2 separate regions of the Homo sapiens genome follow, and region 2 is linked to region 1. Evidence: promoter capture Hi-C in 16 types of primary human blood cells and fetal thymus (Javierre and others, 2016). All regions are on one chromosome and are shown on one strand. Each heading gives the region's core, a stretch centred on a gene start or on the middle of the fragment in contact. The rest is flanking DNA. Distances are from core to core; before and after follow the strand shown. Region 1 holds the start of CRNKL1 (crooked neck pre-mRNA splicing factor 1). Region 2 holds the start of LINC00237 (long intergenic non-protein coding RNA 237).

Region 1 (6,466 bases), core at 2,425-4,924:
GCTCGCAATAGGCTTCCTGAAGGGCCACCAGGCCCATTAACATCTTTGAGAGGTTCCATAATAAAGCAACTTGTTTTCTTTGTATAACCCAGCCTTTCCGACACTCTTTGGGAAGAGAATCTCTAATGACGGCAACAGTGGAGAACCTAACGTTCCAGAAGGACACTTTGGGAAATGCTGTTGACAAAAACAGTAGGTCACAAAATGATTTCAATTTCTCTCTCATTGTCTCAATTTCTGTAAGTCTCTCTTCTCTCTTTCCCTCCCTTCTTTCCTTCATAGGGAAAGCCATTTTATTATATACTAGCCAGTGAGCTCAAAACAGGGAAAACAATGAAGGAGAAATTAATAATGTCTAGACTCCTATCGAAGCTAACCATAAATATTGTCATTCCTTGTTCTGGTTTTAAATTGAAAGCAAAATTGGAATGAGACATCTTGTTTGTGAAACATATCATAAACTAATGCTACAAGTATATAAAAATTCTGAATAAAATAAGGAAGTATAATTAATTAGATAACTGACTTTGGTAAAAAGAAAACAAGAAAAGAAGAAAGAAAGCGAGCGAGGGAAATTCTCCAACCAGGTGGCAATGATGTGAGCCGATCTGACACAGGTTTTGGGGATAGAATGGACCTCACTCCAAACAGAGAATTAAAAATTAAACCATGCATCTACCTGGGACTTTGGATGGGCCCCTCGGTAAGTGAGGGGGCTAGAAAAATTAAACTCACCAGCCCAAGAAAGTGACAAGCTTTCTCTACACAAAGCTCTAGGTAGAAAATAAAGCAAAAATACTGCTGAGAAGTCCAAATTCTAGACTAAAGTGGGTATGGCATTCTAGTCCACACAATCTGTGTATTATGGGAGTCACCAAGAACTTTAGATGATAGACTCTGAAACAGACTACAAACTAAGTATGTTTATAATAAAGAAATATAGAAAGAGAAACAAAAGTCATGAGAAGAGAACAGGTCATTATTTAAAAAAGAACAGAAACTTAAAAAATGAAATACGTGGTTATTAAAATTTAAACTAAGAGGATGGGTTAAAAACAGAAGAATAAAGAAAATAAACTGGAAGATACTTATGAACAAATTATCTAGAAAGAAGCACATAGAAACAGAAAATACAGAATTCAGTAAAGACACATGTAAGACAGAATGAAAAACATCTGTCTTATGGGAATTCCAAAAGGAATAAATGAAACATTTGAAAATAATGGCTAATTACTTTTAGCATGGATGAAAGACATGAACCTTCAGTTCAGAGCAAAAAATACAAATAAACTCCAAATATATAGTAAAACTACAAAACCCTAAAGACAAACAGAAAACTTTAAAGGAACCTGACAAAAGACAGACTGTCTATAAAAAATAATTAGACTGACAGAATATTTCTCATGAGCAACATTAGAAGCCAGTAGCACGGGGGTTAGCAAACTTCTGTAAAAGGCCAGAGAATAAATACATTAAGCTTTATGAGCCACATGTTGTCTACACAACTAGTCAACTCTGCCATTGTAGCACAGTAACAACCAGAGACAATATCGGCACAAATGAGCATGAATGTATTCCCACAAAATTTTACTTACATACACTGAAAGTTGACTTATGTATAATTTTCATGTGCCATGTAATTTTTAAAAAATGTTTAAAATGTAAACTACATATAAAGTTTAATGTAAAATGTGTGTGTGTATATGTGTATGTATGTGTGTGTGTATATATATATATATATATCCCTAGCTCATTCACAGTCCATACAAAATAGTCAATGGGCTGAATTTAGTCTACGGCCCATAGTTTTCTAACTACTAGAATAGTGTTTTAAAAATATAAAAGGAAAAAATAACCATTAACCTAGACTGATAAACCTAAACAATCACTTTAAAATGAAGATAAAATAAAGACAATTTCATACAAAGACTGAAAGAATTCAAAGAATCTTGTAGAAAGAACTAGGAGATGGTATATTCTGAGAAGAATAAAATCAGAAAGAAGTGGAATACAAGATTAAATGCTGGGAAATAAGAAGGTAAACATGAAGGTATATCTACAAAAGCATTGATGGCAAAAAGTAAGAAGGATAATACATTTTTCCTAAAAAAAAAAAAAAAAAAAAACAAACAAAAAAAACACACACAGAGATGAACTGAATTGCCAGACAACAGAAATGTAAGAGAGAAGGATGGTGATCAGAAGCAAAGTATTCTAGCATGTTTGTACTTTTGAGCAAAGGCAACAGATGATTAAACCAATGATTCATTTGGTAAATCAATTGTTTACAGTAACACATTTAAGGAAAATCACTTCAAAGAAACATCTTTTTAATATTTATTTATTTTGTTAGGTGGCTTTATGAAAGTGATATAAAATCTTCTCTATTTAAATTTTGAAAAGTGAGATAAAATATCTAAATAATATGGTTAATAAAGAGTTATGGCAAATACATTGATGTTGGTTATAACTGACTGCAGTTCTAGAAATCTGCATAAATCTTTTGTTGAAAGTAATATCTGCATTGGTAGACGTGATATTACTACATACATAAATATATATTTTCCCCAAACACCAAAAGAGCTTTGCAACTGTGGAAATTATCCTAACAAATGAGCTGCCAAGTCATGTCATTATACATTTGTCCAACCTCATAGAATGTACACCAAGAGTGAACCCTAATATAAACTATGAACTTTGGGTGATAATGATGTGTCAATGTAGGTTCAAGATTGTAACAAATGTACTGCTCTGGTGGAGGATATTTTTAAGAGTTGGAGGCTGTTAGAGGAGGGAAGAGGTACAATAATTGATAGCAGGAAGCTGTGGAGGGAGGAAATCTCTGTGTCTTCCACTTAATTTTGTTGTGAACCTAAAACTTCTCTAAAAATGTCTATTAAAAAAAATTCTCTTAACCTTTGCTTTTCAGTTTTTGAGGGCAGGTTAAGTATTATAACAGCTAACATCTACTGAGCATTTGTCTTTAATCCTAGTGAAACAGATGTTATTAGCCTTGTTTTATAGTTGAGGACATTGAGGCTAAGAAAATTTAACTAGAGTAATTAAGGCACACACAGAATTTAAACATGTTTCTTATCACAAGACTGAGTTGTTTTCCAGTTACTCTATTTATATTTTTTCCTAATATCTGGCTTCAAAGTACCTTCTGTTATTTTTAATTCCAAGCCTTAGAGTTAATTATTTGGGCACCTTAGAATTATTTGGGCACAACTGTCCCGAAACCAGAAACGAGGGGGCGTGGACCCAGAGACTACTAGAATGCAATGCTCGAGGCATTGCAGCCTAAAAGGGCGGCAGCTCGCCCCGTCGCATGCTGGGAATGGTAGTTTCCTCGCTCTCCCTTCTTCCCCCGCCCTCGAGCATCCAGATTGGAGCTCCGTTCTTACTCCCTTGCAGGGCGCCACGGCTCGACAGAGCCACTCGTCCTCGCCTGGTCATCCCAGTTCCGGAGGCTGACCTGGGGATGCGCCCTGGACGCCCTGCACCGCAGTCCTTGCGTCGCTGCTAGTCAGCACGGCGTTACCCACCTCATCCGCAGCTCCAGGACGCCGCACTCCACGCGCTGCCGCAAGGAGGACGCGCAGCCTGGTCACCATGGAAACGGTGCCGCCTCCGTCACGGCTCAAGCGAGAGGTCAAAGGTCAGTCCTGCAAGTTCCGCTTCCGGTTCCGAGATCCTGTTTGTTTTCTGAAAGCTTTGTGGTTTCGGTGAGCTCTCAGAGCCGATTTCTAGCGTCCGTGCCGGGGACAGGTGTCCAGAGGTCGACTGCTGCAGACATGGCGGCCTCCACCGCGGCCGGGAAGCAGCGGATTCCCAAAGTGGCCAAGGTAGGCGATCGCGAGGGGCCTTGTAGGAGGTGGCCTAGGAAAGGGGCATCCCTCAGCCCTGAGGGTGCCCGGGTTGGGAGAGAGTGTTCCCGCCGGGGAGAAGGCTCACCCTGAGAGATGGAGAGGAAGGGCAGCTGGTGGTGGGGCGCGGGCTCTTGTCATCGCGGAGCACGACCCGCGTTGGCGTGGCCTTCGTTCTGGGGTGGTTTTGCTGGGGAGTGGAGTGGGGTGGTTCGGTGAAGATTTACTGAGCCAGGCACTGCACTGGGCGCTGGGAAGCTACGCTCGTACGCTGGCCACAAGCAGTACTCAAAACACGAGTTTCTGTATAAAGACGACCTTGCTAGATGTTACCGAGAGGCAAAGTAGAATATGCCATGGGCGTGAATAAGGGGGTCGTATGAAGGGGTCCTGAAAGTAAATTTTGCTGAGGAAATGACCTTTAAGCTGAGACTTGAAGGCTGAATAGGAGTTAGCCCAGCTGACAGCGGAGGGCGAGAGTAGACGGTAGGAGTAGTATAGTATCATAAGTTAATTAAACAGTAGACTTACTATCTGGTATTTCCTTTGATAGCTAATACTTACCAAGTGCTTAATATGTGGCAGACTTTGAAGCCTTTACAGATACCCTCCCTCCAGTCTTTCTTGAGCCCGGATGACTCTCTTGAACTGGACCTTTACATAACTATTTGTCTGACTCGCAGGAGTAATGCATATAGAGCAAGTAACACTGTGTCTGGCACTTAGTGCTTATTAAATATGAGCTATCACCATTATCATCATTACTCCACATGTGGCATTAAGTAACATTTTTTATAATTCAGCTACATAAACTTTTATTGGGCATCACTGGTCCAATGGAAATATAATGCACACCACATATGAAATTTTAAATTTTCTCATATCTACATTAAAAAGTAAAAACAAAGCAAAAAAGTGAAATTAATTTTGATAATATATATTTTATTTGAGCTAATGTATCCAAAATATTATCATTTCAACATGTAATCGGTATAAAAAATGTAATGAGGTAGTTTATTCTTTTTTATACTTCATCTTCAAAACCAATGTGTATTTTACACTTACAGTCCACCTCAATTTGTACTCACCACATGTGACTCATAGCTACTGTGTTGGACAGCACAGCTCTAAGCTACGTTAGACTGTAAGCTTCTAAGACCTCAAGAAGCTTACAGTCTAATGATGAGAACTTACTGAAATTGCCTTTGACTTGAAGTGCCATGTAAAACCAAACCCAGTTATACACCGGGGCATTAAATAAGTTGAAGAATTCTGTAAATGCAGGTTGTAATGCTGTTAATAAGATGTGCTACACATTTTGATAAAACAAAACCTCTGGTCAGAATTTTACCTAGACGGCCTCAAAGTTTATTATTATACTCATCTAAAAGGGAAAACTTGCTATTATTTTTGCCACCTTTTTCTCTTGAGACTTTTACCTATGGCTTTGCAGTAGATACTATGAATAAGAGAGAAAACGGTATTTTTTTTTTCTTTTCAGTCTCATGGAGGAATGGGAACATGTCATACAAAAAGGGCATCTTGTGATAATACTAACAAAGTTCATATCCTAAAAAATGTATGTTTGTTTCTTAAGCCTTGTGTGAAGAGCAACTACTAAAAATAGAAATGTCTTCTTTCTTAAAAGGTGAAAAACAAAGCCCCGGCTGAGGTACAGATAACTGCTGAACAACTCTTAAGAGAGGCTAAAGAAAGAGAACTTGAGCTTCTTCCACCTCCACCTCAACAGAAGATCACAGATGAAGAAGAATTAAATGATTATAAACTAAGGAAAAGGAAGGTCAGTCAGTGTGGTATCTTTCAGTCCACTAATTGTTAAGACTGTATCGGTCAGTTTGAAAAGCTCCTCATTGGTTGGATTCTGTAGGGCAAGATGAGGTTAAGTGTTTCCAGACGCATGAATAATGTACTTCTGGTTACCAGATAACAGCATTTTTCTGAACTATATAAAATATGCCATGAGTTGTCTGGTTAAAGTGTAAAGAAATTGAATCTGCATAATTTTTGATGCTGAATCAAAGTGAGCGGAAGTTTAGCAGATGGAACAACTGACAACAAGAAGGAGGGTATGCTTAGTAAGGCTGCACTGTGTACTTCTGTCTATACCACCTTCTGTGTTAAGAATTGAGATCTGGCTGGGCACAGTGGCTCGCGCCTGTAATCCCAACACTTTGGGAGGCCGAGGCGGGCAGATCACCTGAGGTCAGGAGTTTGAGACCAGCCTAGCCAACATGGTGAAACCCCATCTCTACTAAAATACAAAAATTAGCCAGGCGTGGTGGCAGGTGCCTGTAATCCCAGCTATTCGGGAGGCTGAGACATGAGAATCACAGCAACTCGGGAGGCAGAGGCTGCAGTGAGCCGAGATCGTGCCACTGCACTCCAGCCTGGGCGACAGAGCAAGACTTTGTCTCAAAAAAAAAAAAAGAAAGAAAGAAAGAAAGGAAAAGGAATTGAGGTCTGCAAAAGGACCATGAGAAGACTTTGGGATCTGATTTGACCTCTTCACTCTAGAATGTGGGACTGTTTTAAAGCACTAATGCTGTTATATATGAAATTCTGAGAATTACCAGAGG
Region 2 (6,641 bases), core at 2,957-5,456, 1.1 Mb before region 1:
CACTCCATGGGATTCCTTCTCCAACATTCTTTTCCCTGTTTTAAGTTTCCTTGAATATTTCAGAGCTGAATTTCTCTATAGAAATAAATTTCTAATAAACATGTTGAAATTGTGACATCATTATCTTTGGGCAATAAAAAAAAAACAGAAAGAAAAGAGTTATCGGCTATGGGCAAGGAAAAGAAATACAAAGATTCCCATGACCCCTCAAGTCTCAGAAAATGCACCTGGGCATTCCAAGAGTAGGAAAATAATTGGACCTCATGTTTTTTTCTCTATTATGATATTCAACCTGATTTCTAGAATATTTTGGTGACATCATTGATGAGAAGTGTTACCTCTTGTTCTGTAGAAAGCCCATAGCCAAGGTCATTGCCATTATTTCACAAAAGCGCCAATAAAAACTCTCATCATAAAACCACAGAAATATTTCAGGGTTATTTAAGCAACTTAATAAAGAAGAATAAAACCACTTTTTCCTTAACCTACCGACTATTTAATTAACTTTATAACCTCTTCAGTGCCACAATTTTTATAATTTAGTAATCTGTCCATCTTATCGTATTTAAATCTTTATTCATTTGATTTTCAGCTTGGTGTTAAAATATGCATTGTCAATTTAATGACAGCAGAATAGTCCATCTCATTGATGAGTCTTGGGAATTTGAGAGCAAGAAAGTTCGAAAGAGCTAAAATGTCAATCTAGGACAAGATATTCACTACAGAGATGATGAAACTGAGGTACAGAGAAGCAGAGTGGACAATGTCACTTCCTGTTCTGATTATTCTCATTATCTATTGCTGTGTGATAAACAATGGCTTTTTATTACTTTTATGGTTCTGTGGGTTTACTGGGCTCACCTGGGTGGTTCTTGGCTTGGATCCTTTTCAGCCAGAGTTCTCCAGAGAAAAAGAACCAATTATAGACATAGGTATATATATATATGTATATGTGTGTGTGTGTGTGTGTGTGTGTATACATATACCCTGTATATAGATATACCATATATATATACTTAAAGGAATTGGATCATGTAATTGTAGGGATTGGCAAATCTGAAATCTGTAGCACAGGCTGGCAGGCTGGAGATGCAGGCAGGAGTTGATGCGGCAGTCTTGAGGCAGAATTTCTTCTCCAGGAAACTTCCGTTTTTGCTCTTAAGGCCTTCGACTGATCAGATGAGGCCCATTCACATTACTGAGGATAATTTCTAACACTTAAAGTCAACTGATTTTAGTTGTTACCTACATATATAAAATACCTTCACAGCAAGTTACTGGGTACCATAGCCTAGCCAAGTTGATACATAAACTAACCATCACAGGATCTCTTATGTGTTTTTAAGTCAGATGTGAGAGCTGCAGTCTTCTGAAGCCTCCACTGGGCTGGACATCCAAGATGACTCATTCTCATGGTCATTGCTCACTCCACATTGGTGGCTAATGCTGGCAGTCAGCTGGGAGCTTAGCTAGGGCTGTTGAACGGCACGCTTACCTGATCTGTCTCCAGCATGGTGGCTGGGTTCTAAGAGGGAGTGTCCCAAGAGCCAGCATTCCAATAAACAAGAAATGGAAGCTGCTTGGCCAGTTAACACCCACACTGGAATTAGTACAATGTCATTTTCACTGTTCTATTGGTCAAAACAGTCACAGGGCCCATCCAGATTCAAAGGGTGGAAAACTAAGTCCCACTTCTTGATGGGAGAGTGGCACAGTCAATTGCAAAAGAACACGTGGGCTGGGAGATACAGACACAGCTGTTTTTGGAAAACACAATGGGACTCACCATTTCCATGCACATCGGCCCACCCTCCAACTGCCAGCATCTATGACCCTTTACCTAGGGTCTTTCTTTGGCCAATGTCTTCTTCACCTCCTGTAAGGCAACTCTACAGTGTGGGCAAATAATGCCCACCCCAGAAGTCCTCAACCAATAATAGGATGGTACAATTCCCTTGTCCCTCAAGCAGGCGTCTACACTGCCTCCCAGGGTTTCTCTAGTAGTATTAAGTTCCAGTTGCAATAAAATGGTAACTTGCTTGGTAATTCACTCTGTATTGCTCCCTCCCCTTCCCTGTTTCTTTTCCCTACTTCCCCTACTGTGTTGCTTCCTGAGATCACCTCCTGAAAAATATATTTGCACTCATCTTTGGCTCAGGGCTGACTTCTAGGGGAACCCAACTAAAATAAGAGAGTGACTTGTTCAAGGTCACAGAGCTATAACTAAGGGCTGAACTGACCCCTAGTCAAGAGTGCTTTCCAAATTTGCTACATTCTGACAAAGCTTCAGAGAATTAAAGTGTTCAATCTTATTTAGTGATAGGGAGGGCCTATGAAAAAGAACAAATTAAATGTTTGTGTTAGCTATTATTTGGAGAGAGGACTGGACTAGGAGTCAGGAAATGTGGGTTCTTGCTTTTGCTCTAGTGGTGAACAAGTTCCATAACTTGAGCCTCAGGAGTGGAGATAAATTCTCATCTCGAATTCACACTTTTAGCATTTCAGTGAGCATCAAATGGGTGATCATGCAAAAACAGTACAATGAAGAAAATAGGCAAATGAGTGAAAGGAATTATTTTTTCCCATTTTTGGTGACTCTACTCAATAAAACCTTATGTTTTAATTTTTTTCAAAAGCTTCTCATGTAATCTTGAAGTACACGATTGCCAAGTTCACCAAACCATGTTGTCTGGATAATTCAGGTTATGTTCAAAATCTCCAGTTTTAAAACAAAGTCTTCAGATACAATTTTTTAGCCAATGGCCCACTTTTACCAGAAAAAGCTCCTGGCATTGAAAGCCATCTCTCAGTCCCTGACAACAAATGTCCTTGTCACTGCAGAGCATACGTAGGCATGAACTGCCTGGATAAAGATAGTCAATATATTTTTCACCGTTGGCTTATGAAAAAATATCACATCCATATTATGGCATTTCCCCCTCTGCACTAGCTTCTTTAGGATGTATGAATTTCACCTAGCAGTATGTGTGTGTGTTGAGTTTTGATACCCATCTCTTTGTGTGTTAGTGGACAGAGTAGAAAAATGCAGACAACAGATTAACAGAAGAGAAAATAACTCATGAGCGGTCTTGGACACATTTAATATTATCAATGATATTCTGCGATAAAACATAAGCGGGGGTAGTATTTATGTACTTATTGGCTTACTAAATTGATCACATTTTCTGGTGGAAAAGTTAAATGCAATTTAGCTGCAGAGGATTTGGAACATGCCCCAGTTTGGTATTTGTTTATACTTTATATTTTAAAAAGGGAAAACAACTTGATTTAATCTCTGATTTGTGTAGAAAACTTGGCTTGCCAACTTATTGAAATTCACAGCTCTTGCCCAGAGGAACTGGTCTTCCGCTAAAAACTAGCCTTGGTTTATGCTAAGGTGGCAAAAGACTTAATTTGGGAATTACATTTCTTCCAAAGACTAATTTCAAACTAGGTATATATATTTTTAAGTTGGTTTGCAGATTCACATCTACACCACCTCTTCCAGAGTTGGGGGATGTTTTCCCTCTTGTTTATCGTTTTGCTGGTGTGAATGCTGAGAATTAATTACTCTCCTTTGTAACACTAAGACAACTTTTAATGATCATTTGTTTCTTCTATTGTATGGAATGAAATCATAAGAAGTTTCATTTAATTGGTTTATTCATTTAAAGAGATTCCTTTAATTGAAATAGAGAAAAGGAAAAATAAAACCCTAGAAAATAAAACCAGGTTCTAACCACTCCAGGGCGAAACGCGTAAATCATTTTAAAAATGAATACCCCAAATTAAGAATTTAATTTTTAAAACTCTTTATGTCTCTCTCTCCACATTTGTAGTATGTGAAAGGCAAGAGAGACCCTTTGAATCAGGGAAAAGTTATTCTTTGAAATGACATCGGTGATCTGATTCCCTCTGTATTTCAACCGCATTAACTTCACACCGTCCACACTGGGCAATGAAGATGCTCAGAGTCAGGTCAAATTCACCCTCCTGAAAAACTGCAAATTAAGATGCTGTTGATTACACATCACCGGCTGTCTTAATCATCGTGATCAAAATCCAAATATTAAGGAAAGTGGCCTGGGAGGGTTACGTTTGGGCTTTTGACAGACCCTCAACCAAACTCTGACGCCCAGCCTGCGCGTTTCCACATCTTTTTCCAGGCAAGAGGCTCCACCAGCCCGCGTGGGGCTCGCAGTGTTTCTCTAGAGTGGCTAGACATCCCCCAGCCCCCAAACCCAGACACACCCCGACCCCCGCGAATGGTTCTGGGCTGTCAAAACACGCGGCGGCGTGTTCAGTCCCAATAACTCGCGTGATGATTAATGAGCAGCTTGATAATTTAATATCGCGTGTGATTAAATTATAAGGCGTGGGGGAGGGGAGCTCTGCGCCACCTCGGCAGCCCCGCCGACGCCGACCAGCTAACCGGACTGGGCTGCGCGCGGAGCCCCCTCTTCCCGTGCACAGTGCGGGGCGAGGCTTGGCGAGCGGTGGGTCTGCGCCTTCCCAAGGTCAGTGGGTCTGGAGAGGGGAGGACGGCGGGACTGGGGGTGGCGGAAGGGATGTCTTGCAGAGAGGAGGAGAGGTGTGGGCTCAGGGTAGCTCTGGTCTGAGCCGATGAGCAGGGCGAGTCATCGACTCTTTCCCCGGCAAAGGCGCGTGGAAGGCTGGAAAATGGCCTCAGGCAAGGGAAGATTTGTTTTTAAAAATTCCTCTTTTCTCTGCCACGGGGGCTTAGAGAGTCCCTAGGATTCGGAGACCCCTGGGGGGAAGGGGCGCCCCTCTGAGTCTCTCTCTGGATCCCATCCCCCCGACCCCGCCCCGCGCCTTGACTTTGTGGGGTTTCCCCGCAGGCCGGGCCGAGGTGGCGGTCGGGTTGGGCCACCCCAAGCCCCTTCTTTTCCCCAGCCCGCAGAGCCCGGCCTTGCCTAGTGCTCGGCGGGGTTCAGGCAGGTCCGGGGGAAGAGGGAGTGGATGAAGCCTGCGAGAGCCGGAAGCTGCGGGGAGGCAGAGAGACGCCCGCAAAACTCTAGGCGCAGAGTCTCCGGGGTTTCCAGCCGGATTCCTAGGGGAGGCGCGAAAACCCGATCTAAACTGAGGTTACTGGAGGGACTCCTGGCCGGCACTCTTTTCTCCTGAAGAGGTCGTTTAGGGGGGCTCAGGCGTGGCCACTCCTTCCCCTGGAAGAAGTGTGAGCGCAGGGCCCTCGCCGGGTGAGGGGGCCGGCGGCGCTCACACTGTCCCTGCCGCCGCGGCACAGTCCTGCCCCGGCCCAGGTAGGCGGTTGCTTTTGCTGCTATGCAGAGCCAGGTCTGCTCCGGGGGCTGCAGCCTCAGAGGGGTACCTCGAGAAACCACTTGCGGGACACAGGGAGAGTCGCCTCTTATTCCATGGCTCTGTCGAAGGGCTGAACTTTTAGCCCGAGGAGGGCAGGCCCTCGACAGGTAGGGATGTCCCCAGAAGACCCTAGGAAACAACACCTTGGGGTGGGGGGCGGGGGACGGGGGGGTTGTTCAGACCCAGAGCGGGAGGGTGAAAATTAAAGCGTCCTGACCAGGGCTCCAGAGGGCTCGGCGTCCAGGCTGTGCTGGCTGGATTTTCAGCTGGGAAATGGCATTCGAAAGGGGACCCGGTGGGCTGAACCCAGGCTGCCCGCTTTCCTTCACCCAGAGAGGCCCTGCAGAGCGCCAGAACGGCGCGCCTGGTGTCCGGTGCTTCGGGCTCCAGGTGCAGTGGCCGAACCTTCCTCCTAGACAAAGATGGAAGCTTCCTAGGTTGGGCTCCTTGGATATGCAGCCATGACCATTTCTCTCCCAGCTTCTCCAGATATTTGGAGGTAACACCAAGGAAGGGGAAAATCATGAACAACCAAATGGGCTTGTAAACAGAGGTCACAGTATAGAAAAAATATATGAGTGTGTGTGTACGCGCCTGTGTGTCTGTGTGTCTGTCTGTGTGTGTCCTCTCAAAACACCCAGAGAGAATATGTAAACAAAACCTGCCTAGCTAGAGCAGAAACAAGCCACAAATTGGTTCTAGGAGGCTCAGCCTGAAATGCCCCAAATTAGCAGAGGATGTAGGTTGTGACTGCAATTCCAGGATATTTGGAACACACAAAACCCTTCTTAGGAAAAAAAACAGTAAGTCAGGGGTTGGAGGGTGGGGGGCAGAGGAGAAGTGCTCCGAAGCTGCCCCGCGTCCTGGGCCCCCAGCGGCTGCAGACCTGGTTGCATCTTTCTCCAGGGGCCGCACCTCTCTGTCCTGGCCCAAAGGCCCTGAGAGGAGGCCACTCCCCTCAAGGTGAGTTAGTGGTAACTAAAGAGGATTTATGGACAAGGCTGTTGCTTGCGGCCGCCTCTGCAGCCGGAGTCATTTTAAGGAGAAGCAGCCTCTGATATTACTGCTGACGCTCCACCTCGGGGTACTGACCTGACCAAAGGCCAACGCTCTGGTTCCCGCATGCCGCTTTTGTCCTTGTTATGAAAATCATTCCTTAAATTTGCTCCTCATCTGTGCTGCTCTCAGACACAAACTGACCCCCTTATATCTGGTGCCACCAAAAATAGTGGCTGGGCCCAAGGAGAACAATTTAAAAGCCCAGGACTAACCTGTTTCTCCCAAAGGTACCACACCTA

What was found. Contacts are between HindIII fragments. The CHiCAGO score rates a contact against its expected background, and 5 or more counts as called.
Region 2: a contact is called between a fragment that was not itself captured here and the fragment with the promoter of CRNKL1 in region 1, in 1 of 17 cell types (activated CD4 T cells). The highest score is 5.8, in activated CD4 T cells.

Annotation. Positions count from the first base shown.
Region 1 is chr20:20,049,674-20,056,139 of GRCh38, reverse strand. CRNKL1 (crooked neck pre-mRNA splicing factor 1) reads left to right here and starts at 3,674. Exons shown (of 14, transcript NM_001278628.2): 1 at 3,674-3,848; 2 at 5,518-5,670. The coding sequence starts at 3,798. It overlaps CFAP61 (cilia and flagella associated protein 61), which reads right to left and starts at 3,608. Exons shown (of 27, transcript NM_015585.4): 1 at 3,549-3,608. RefSeq lists a silencer at 3,200-3,249 and enhancers at 3,340-3,639, 3,650-3,819. The HindIII fragment of the contact is 2,238 bases long and covers 1,480-3,717 here.
Region 2 is chr20:21,104,147-21,110,787 of GRCh38, reverse strand. It overlaps LINC00237 (long intergenic non-protein coding RNA 237), which reads left to right and starts at 4,430. Exons shown (of 2, transcript NR_190203.1): 1 at 4,430-4,517. The HindIII fragment of the contact is 3,136 bases long and covers 2,639-5,774 here.